3 separate regions of the Homo sapiens genome follow, and regions 1 and 2 are each linked to region 3. The links are contacts of gene promoters, found by promoter capture Hi-C in human tissues and cell types (Jung and others, 2019). All regions are on one chromosome and are shown on one strand. Each heading gives the region's core, a stretch centred on a gene start or on the middle of the fragment in contact. The rest is flanking DNA. Distances are from core to core; before and after follow the strand shown.

Region 1 (3,097 bases), core at 345-2,844, 190 kb after region 3:
CTTGGAGTTCATTAGATTCCCTGCCTATTAACATTGGGGTTGTTTTATTTAACCGCTGAGTCTTGATTTCTTCATCCATGTGATGGATTTCTTAAGCCCCATCTCCCTGGATAATTCTGAGACTTACATGGTACGGAGTAGATGTGCTAAGTGTTTGTCATTCTCTTGGTTGACTGGCAAGAGAGCCTTGAGCTTGGGACTCAGTGGCAGAGGTGGCTGGGCTGAGAAGGGCATTTCAGTGTGGGGGGGCGGGGATCTCAATGGGGCCTGGTTTGGGATGTTGGGAAGGGAGCGCAGCCTCTGGGTTGGGGGAGAGTTGGATGAGCGTGCCGTGCAGGTGAGGGTGGGCAGGCAGGATGCCTAAGGGGGCACTGGGCCTACCCTGCTTGCTTTGAGCCCACCTGCGTTCTTCTCTTGCAGGTTCATCTATGAATTCGAGCACTTCAATGGTGTGGCTGAGCTGCTGGAGATCCTAGGAAGGTGATTCTCCCTGGGCCTCAGCTGGAGCTCAGGATTCTGGAAGGAGGGACTGGGGCCAGGTCACCTGAGCCCTCTTCCTCTCTTCTGCCTCCTCCTCAGCATCATCAATGGCTTTGCGCTGCCCCTGAAGACGGAGCACAAGCAGTTCCTGGTTCGCGTCCTGATCCCCCTGCACTCTGTCAAGTCGCTGTCTGTCTTCCATGCCCAGGTGAGGCCCAGGCCTGTCCCTGCTGCAGCAGGAGCTCCAGACAGTCAGGGCAGCCAGTGGGTCCTGGAGGTCAGATCCTCCAGGGATCCTATCTCACCTTCTTTGTCTTTATAATTCTGTTCCATCTACCTTAGAAAATTCCCACTGGCGCTTTAAGGCTAACCTCAGATATCAGCTCTGTGAAGCCAGGCTTTTCTTCTCTACCCTCCCTTGGCAGAATTACATTCTTCTCCATCTATATTCCCAAATATTTGGATACACAAATCTATTATGGGAGATTTTGATACACAATTTTTTTTTTTGAGACAAAACCGTACTCTGTTGCCTCAGCTGGAGAGCAGTGGTATGAACATGGCTCACTGAAGCCTCTACCTGCTGGGCTCAAGCAGTCCTCCCTTCTCAGCCTCCCGAGTAGCTGGGACCACAGATGTATGTGCCACATGCCTGGCTAATTAAAAAAAATTTTTTTTTTGTAGAGACAGTGTCTTGCTATGTTACCTAGGCTGGTCTCAAACTCCCAGGCTCAAGTGATTCTGCTGCCTCGGCCTCCCAAAGTGCTTGGATTACAGGCGTGAGCCACCACACTAGCCATATTATGGAACCTTTTGCAAAATTTATAAAGATGAGTTTGTTGACTGTCCCCACTCCCCGCGAGATCAGAGTTGTATTCCCAGCACACTGAATGTGATGCCTGGTACATCCTAGGCAGGTGATAAATGCTTGGTGAATAAGAAAGTAACAGGCCGTGGGTGAGCAGTATTTGGCATTCTGTCCTGGACAGCAAGTCCTTGGCGCCTGGTGCCTTCCTGACCTGTCTTCCTTCCCTCCACCTGTCACCCCCTGCAGCTGGCATACTGTGTGGTGCAGTTCCTGGAGAAGGATGCCACTCTGACAGAGCACGTGAGTACCTCTGGGGGCTAAGGCAGCCTCTCACCTCTGCAGGCGTGACTCCTGTCTCATCTCCCACAGGTGATCCGGGGGCTGCTCAAATACTGGCCAAAAACCTGCACCCAGAAGGAGGTATGAAGAAGGGCTTTGATGCCCGCCAGAGGGAGGCTGGGAGGGCTCGGCCTCTAGAAGGCAGTCAGGTGTGTGTATGTGTAGGGGGAGATGTGAGCTGCTGCCCCTCTGTCCCTACTCCCCTCCCCAACCCACCCAGGTGATGTTTCTGGGGGAGATGGAAGAGATTCTTGATGTCATCGAGCCCTCCCAGTTTGTGAAGATCCAGGAGCCCCTTTTTAAGCAGGTGGCTCGCTGTGTTTCCAGCCCCCATTTCCAGGTATGAGGCAGGACAGGCGGGGATGGGAGCAGGGCTGGCCTGGAAAGGTTGGGTAGCTGACCTAATAAAGCTCCCTTTGCCCTCAGTTTCTCCTCCAATCCCGGGTCTGGTAATGGGGAGATGCTGGACTTAGGGTCAGGAGACCTAGGGTGAAGCCTCGGACCTGCCTTCCACTGGCTGAGGGGCCTTGAGCAAATCACTGCACCACTCTGATTCTGATTAAGCTTCCGCAGCTGTAAAATGGGCCAACAACCTCTTCACAGGGTGGGGATAAGGATGGAAGAGATTGTGAGTGTAAACATGTTTGGTAAACTGAAGTGTGATCCAGAATGTGATGGAGGACTGTTATCACTTTTCCCCTTTTGCTAGTGGCCTTAGATTTCATTAGACTCGCTTTGGGATGCAGCCAGGCTTCCCCGCACCAACCCAGCTAACTAACTCATGTTCTGCTGCAAGCATGTGCAGACTTCCTCCCGTTCTTATGGGCCATAACCCAGTGGAAGTCAAGTCTTCCTCACAGTGATTCTGGCACTTCGGTTCATTAAACACCTAAAAGTCTAGTATCTCATTTGATTCTTATAACATCCTGTTGAGATAGGTATTATTAGCCCATTTTACAGATGAGAAAACTGAGGCTGGGAGGTTAAATGCCTCTCCCAAGGTCACATGGCATAGTAGAGTCTGTAGTGGTTAGGATTCACCCCGCAGCATTGGATTCCGTATCTAGAACTCTTTTCCCTTCAACACTGTTGCTTCCTCCAGGGCTCAGATAAGCCCTGAAGGTGGGGTGTGTGAAGGTCAGGGGGCCTGGGCGTTGAGGTAGTGATGGACACCAGACCTTGCACACAGAGAGAAGCCACTGCCAGTTAATCACTCTGCCATCTTGTCTGCCCCAGGTTGCAGAGCGGGCTCTGTATTTCTGGAACAATGAGTATATCCTAAGCCTCATTGAGGACAACTGCCACACTGTGCTGCCTGCTGTGTTTGGGACCCTCTACCAAGTCTCCAAGGAGCACTGGAACCAGTGAGTGCCAGGCCATGACCTAACTCACAGAAACTGGGACCAGGGCCAGCCAGTCCAGACCCGACCCCAGGGTTACTCCTAGCTGGAGAATATCAGAGAAAGCATC
Region 2 (2,938 bases), core at 435-2,934, 250 kb before region 3:
CTAGGCAACATAGTGAGACCTCGTCTCTATAAAATAAAAAGAATTTTAAAAAGAAAATTGCAAGAAGAGTACAAATAGCATGCTTTCCCCTTCTGAACCACTTGAGAATTAATTACCAGCCTGATGCCCATTATCTCAAATTCTTTAGGGTGTACATCCTACAACAAGGACAGTCTCCTGCATAGCAAGGCAACATCAACATCAGGAAATTAACACTCACACACTACTACCATCTAATCAACAGAATCCTGCATTCATGTTTAGGCAATTTCTCAGGAACATCCTTTGTACCAACAAGATCTCATCTTGGGTCACAAGTTGTATTTAGTTGACATATCTCTTCAGTCTCCTTCAATCTAACAGTTTCTCTGTCTTTTCTTGATTTGTATGACCTGACGCTTTTGAAAAGCACAGATCAGTTATTTTGTAGAATGTTCCTCAAGTACAGGATTGTCTGATGCTTCCTTTTGATTAGATTCAGGTTACGCATTTTTGGCAGGACTATCATAGCAGTTGGGCTGTGTTCTTTCCATTGTATCCTATCAGGGAGAACACAACATAGATTTATCCTATGACTGGTGATGGGACATCATGCTTTGACTGTGACTTTGGTCACTTGGCTAAAATGGTATCTGCCAGGTGTCTCCACCGTAAAGTTATTATTTTTCCCTTTGTATTTAACAAATGTTTTGTAAAGAAGTACCTCGAAACCACGTAAATATTCCTGCCTGTTCAAACTTTCACTCATCAGCATTAACATCTACTGATACTTCTTGGCTAAATTACTGATTACTAACAGCTATGATGATTACCAAATGGTAACTTTTCTAATTCCATAATTTCTTCCACGTTTGTTAGTTGGCATTTTGTTGTAAGAAAATTTTTTCTTCTCCTCATTTATGTATTCATTCATTAGTATCTATATGGCTTTCTGTTTTATCCAATAGGTTATGTTATTATTATCTAGTTTGGTGTTCAAATTATGTCAGAACAAGCGGGACCCCTTTAGAGCTGGCTCCTCTGTCCTTTTAATTCATCTCCTTCGATTTTTGAGCACATGCTCACTCTCTGGCACAAAAGATGTTATAGGTTTATCTTGTGCTTTTCCTACCTCAACCCTGGAATCAGCCATTTTCCCAAGAAATCCTGGTTGCTTTTAGGGGAGAATGGTATTTAGAAACCAAGATTTGAGTGCTGGGCACGCTCATTGCTGTTGGGGTGTTATTGCATCCAGGCCTTCTTGGTGGATAAAGCTAGCAACACATGTACGTACACACACAATTATATCTATATTCATTTCTGTATCTGTCCATAAGTATTGAAAACCATTAGTTCATCCCTCCAATTATAATCTAACACACAGCGTTCATTCCAGTTTCCTCCTTTTCCGTGTCTGTAACTTCTGCGGCAGTGAGAAACCTGGCTTTCATTTTCCTCAATATTTTGCTTATTTGATCAATCTTTTCTAGGTAACCAACCTACTTCCATGATGCCATGTGCTTCTCAGTACTCAGAGCCGCTTTGCTCTGAGGACATTTTCCCATCCCAATGAGATACCTGAAAAGATGGGCCTTGTTTTTCATAGTCCCTTCAGGCTAAGGGGACAAAAGTCAGAGTGCCGGGAAAGGGTGGTCTGAGGACATAGGAAAAAGAACAACCAGAAACCAACAAAAGTGCTTTTCCTATTCTCTCACTCGATAATCAACAAGCAATACTTCTTGATTGATCTGCTTGATCTTTTCCCCCATACACCAAGCAATCAATCGACTTTGCAGAGGACACCAGCTAGGCATCCTCCAATTCAATTCTGACGCTGTCTACCTGGAGACGGCGTCAGATCCCACAGGCTGAGCACTCAGTCCCACAAGGCTGCCCCCACTTCCAGTGCTCATCGAAAGCCCCAGGTTGTTCCACCTGTAATTCTGACCCACCAGCTATAAATGGGGGTTCCCATGACCCCCTTTTTGGGTTTGATTAATTTGCTGGAGTGACTTACAGAACTTAAGGAAACACTTATTTACATTTACCAGTTTATTACAAAGGATATTACGAAGGATACAGATGAAGAAATGCATAGGGCGAGGTATGGGGAAGGGGCATGTTTCCCTCTCCAGGTGCACACCCTCCAGGAACCTCCACGTGTTCAGCTATCCAGAAGCTCCCAGAACCAAGTCCTTTTGGGTTGTTTAATTTTTTAATTTATTTTATATTTTTCCATAGGTTATTGGGGAACAGGTGGTGTTTGGTTACATGAGTAGGTTCTTTAGTGGTGATTTGTGAGATTTTGGTGTACCCATCACCCAAGCAGTATACACTGCACCCTATTTGCAGTCTTTTATCCCACGCCCCCCCCCCCACCCATCCCCCCAGGTCCCCAAAGTCCATTGTATCATTCTTATGCCTTTGTGTCCTCATAGCTTAGCTGCCACATATCAGTGAGAATATACGATGTTTGGTTTTCCATTCCTGAGTGACTTCACTTAGAATAATTTTCTCCAAACTCATCCAAGTCACTGCGAATGCCATTAATTCATTCCTTTTTATGGCTGAGTAGTAGTTCCCTTTTGGGTTTTTATGGAAGCTTTATTACATAGGCATGATTGATTAAATTATTGGTCATTGGCCATTTAACCTTCAGCCCCTCTCTCTTCCCCAGAGGTTGGTGGGGGACAAGATGAAAGTCCTAATCATATAATCCTGCTTTGGTCTTTCTTGTGACCAGCCACCATCCTGAAGCTACATAGGGGCTGTCAGCCATCAGTGAATTCATTAGCTACAAAAGACACTCATCACTTTGAAAATTCCAAGAATTTTAAGAGTTGTGTGCCAGGAAAAGACCAAATATATATTTCACAAGATCACAGATGGGAACCTGTAAACCCTATCCCACTTTAGGCTAGGACCCAAAGGGCTACACGGAAGGAAATAGAATAATCTT
Region 3 (2,894 bases), core at 227-2,726:
AGACTGCACGCTGCGGAGCAGGGTGGGTCCGGGTCAGGGCTGTGCCCTGGACTGTGCCTGGGAGGCAGGGACCCGGGCTCAGACTCGGGGCTAGGCTCAGGCTCCGTGTGCCCTCCCGAGCCACTCACCGAAGGCTTCGATGCACCCGCGGAGCAGCTCCTCCACCGTGCAGCCCTTGTCCAGGTCCAGGGTGCCTGCCATGGCCGCCGGCGCGGGGTGGGCTGGGCCCAGGCTGCGCTCCGGGAGCCTCCCACCGGGCTCGGACCGAACCCCTGTCCCGGGAGAGGCAGAGCGGGAGTCTGCGGAGTCGCGGGCGGGGGAGCGGCCCCGCGGGCAGAAACGGGGCGGGGCGGGCACGCCCCCTGCTGGACAGGGGCGGAGTTGTCCCCCGCGGCCACTCCCGGGGTTAAACGGTCTGGCCCGGGATGGTGCAACCCGCCAGTTGGGAAACGGACCCGCAGAGAGGCTTCCGGCCCACCCTCGGAGTCGCGGGAAGGCCGAGGGGCTTCACGAGGATGGGGACGAACCAAGATCCCAGGACTGGCTGGCGCCCAGCCCCCCGCAGGGCGCCTTCTCCTCGCGCCCTCTCCCCAGAGGCACCTGCAGCACCCCGCAGCTCGGCTCTGCGCCCCTCCCGCTTCCCTCCCTCCACAGCCTCCCTTCCCCCGCAGGGTTATTTTGGGAACCCAGAGCCTGAGGGGACCTCGGAGGAATTTCTCCCTGGTATGGGAGGTGGGGGGAGAGAACCCAGGCGTCCTGCCCGCCTCGCCCCCTCCCGGGAGCCCAGGAAGGCGAGGCGGGGCTGCGGCAGCCCCCAGGGGGCCTGCCCTAGGGGAGGCGGACTGGATGGGAGAGGAACATTCCTGGGGCGGGGGGAGCCCGCTGCGGCCAGGAGGCGTCAGCGGGAAGCCTGAGCCTGGGAACTGAGCGCTCCCAGGCCACCTCCGCAAAGGTCCCAGGGGTCCCGGCTCAGCTTGTCCACAGGCCCTCTTCCTCCCTATCCCCGGCTCCTGACCCTGGCCCCGGCCCCGCACAGGCGAACTGTGAGCGCGCACGGAGCAGGGTGTCCAGAGGGGGGCGCTCGCGCCAAGGGTGGCCGGTGGGTGCATGACACCATTAGCAACTCCGGTCACTGGCGGGGTCATACGCACCCTGGCAGGGGCAAACACTCCACACCCAAGTTATTCGTCGGAGGCCGGGGACCTAAGTGGAGGTGCAGGCGTCCGCACTTACACGCACCGGGCCACAGGCACCGGCCTCCCATCCTCCGTCTCTCACACACAATGGCACCCACACCCTGTGCACACCTGCACGAAGAAACCCTCAGGCACACATACCCAGCTCGTCCACCCCAGAATGCAAACCCGCGGACGAGGTCGCCTCCTGGACGTGCTGTTCACTTGAGCCAGGCCAGCCTTGAGTCCCGCGGCCACACAGGCGCTGACATCCTCACACGTGTGCACACACGCAAGGCAGTGCCTCTCCACGCATGTACACTCCCACACACATGCACACACCCCCATGGGTGCGCACGCCCATTCCGTCGCCCCCCTCCCATTTGCGGTGCAGGGCCCGCCCTGCGGCCCCAGCTCCCTGACTCCCCTCACTCCCAGATTTTGGCAGAGCCTTGCCCCACGGAAAGGTACCCCGGCCCTACACATACTCACTCCCCCAGGCTGGAGGACAGGGGAGCTCCTGTACGGAGTTCTCAGGCGGACTTTTCCTAAGAGCCACCCAGAGCCGTCCCCGCCTGGCTCTACCGCTTCCTCGTGTGACCTTGAGAATCACTTGGCCTCTGGGAGCCTCAATTTTCTCATCTGCCAAATGGGGGTACGCGGGGGAGGGCCCCGCTGGAAGGTGGCTGGGAAAAGCTGGGTGCACCGTGGAGGTCCTCCGCCCTCCGGGGATCCAGCGCGCCTTAGCTCTCGTGGCCGCTGCCCCCTCTCCCAGACCCGGGCCGCAGACTCCCCACCCGCTCGCCGCCCCCAGCCCGCCCGCGCCGCCCTGGGCGGGGGGGGAGTCGCTGGGGGCCGCGCCCTCCTTCGCCTGGCGCCCCGCCCGCGCTCGCCCACTCACTCTTGGGACCTGCCGCAAGGAGCCCGCACCGGCCTGGCCGACCCCACCTCCGTGCGCTCCCGCCCGCCGGCCTCGCTGCGGCTGCGGCTCCCGCCCGCTCTCCACGCCGCGGCCCCGCTCCCCGCCGCCCCGCCCCCGCCCCCGCGCCAGGCTGCCCCCTCCCCCCTCCGCCCCTGCGCGGAGCTCCGCACCGCCGGCTGCGCCACCCCCACCGGGGGCTCCCTCTCGCCCCGCACGCGGCGGTCCCTGCGGCAGCTTAACCCCTCCCCTGCCGCGCCGCCCGGGAGGCCAGGGCCGCGGGCGGGGGGCTGCGCCACTAGCTGCCCCGAGGGCGGGCGACCGGAGGCCCCGCCGCCCGGGACGCGGAGGGGGGACCGAAACGAAGAGCCCCTCCCCCAACCGCGGACGCCCCAGTGCCCCCCGCCCTGCCTGGGTGTCGGGCGGAGGAAGCCGGGAGGGGCAGGAAGCGGACTGCGGTGGGGAAGGGGCGCCCCGCCCAGCCCCCAGCTCGGGTTCCTGTTTTCGAGACAAACCGTTCCCATGGGGCTAACCCGGCCCGGGACCGGGCGTCTTCCTGCAGGCAGCGGGTGGCACAGGCCTAGTGGAGGTCGGGGGCGTGGGGACAGCTGGTCCTTGAGATAGTCTGGGGGATGGGCTAGGACAAGATGGGAATATTTTGGGGAGAGGGACCTGTGGGGAGCGAGGAATGAAATCGTGGCTATCTGGAGACGCGGCCTTGATGTCTGGGAATGGGGGCGGGGGGCCCAGTTCACACAGGAGGAACGGGGCCCCGGAAGCCTGGCTCCCCACAGGGTCGA

What was found. Contacts are between HindIII fragments. The study calls those that stand out against the background at their distance.
Region 1: a fragment that was not itself captured here is called in contact with the fragment with the promoter of RASGRP2 in region 3 in 1 of the 25 tissues and cell types used here (pancreas).
Region 2: a contact is called between a fragment that was not itself captured here and the fragment with the promoter of RASGRP2 in region 3, in 2 of the 25 tissues and cell types used here (hippocampus and thymus).

Annotation. Positions count from the first base shown.
Region 1 is chr11:64,929,902-64,932,998 of GRCh38, forward strand. PPP2R5B (protein phosphatase 2 regulatory subunit B'beta) reads left to right here. Exons shown (of 14, transcript NM_006244.4): 7 at 421-480; 8 at 580-688; 9 at 1,535-1,588; 10 at 1,658-1,708; 11 at 1,848-1,967; 12 at 2,864-2,991. Among named protein-coding and RNA genes, the nearest start is that of GPHA2, 4.4 kb to the right of the region's middle. The HindIII fragment of the contact is 3,170 bases long and covers 10-3,097 here.
Region 2 is chr11:64,493,273-64,496,210 of GRCh38, forward strand. LOC124902690 (a long non-coding RNA gene) reads right to left here. Exons shown (of 2, transcript XR_007062721.1): 2 at 2,176-2,938. Among named protein-coding and RNA genes, the nearest start is that of LINC02724, 46 kb to the left of the region's middle. The HindIII fragment of the contact is 6,812 bases long and covers 1-2,938 here.
Region 3 is chr11:64,742,666-64,745,559 of GRCh38, forward strand. RASGRP2 (RAS guanyl releasing protein 2) reads right to left here and starts at 1,477. Exons shown (of 17, transcript NM_001098671.2): 1 at 1,338-1,477; 2 at 129-272. The coding sequence starts at 201. RefSeq lists silencers at 144-473, 784-833, 994-1,043, 2,034-2,143, 2,394-2,593. The HindIII fragment of the contact is 18,641 bases long and covers 1-2,894 here.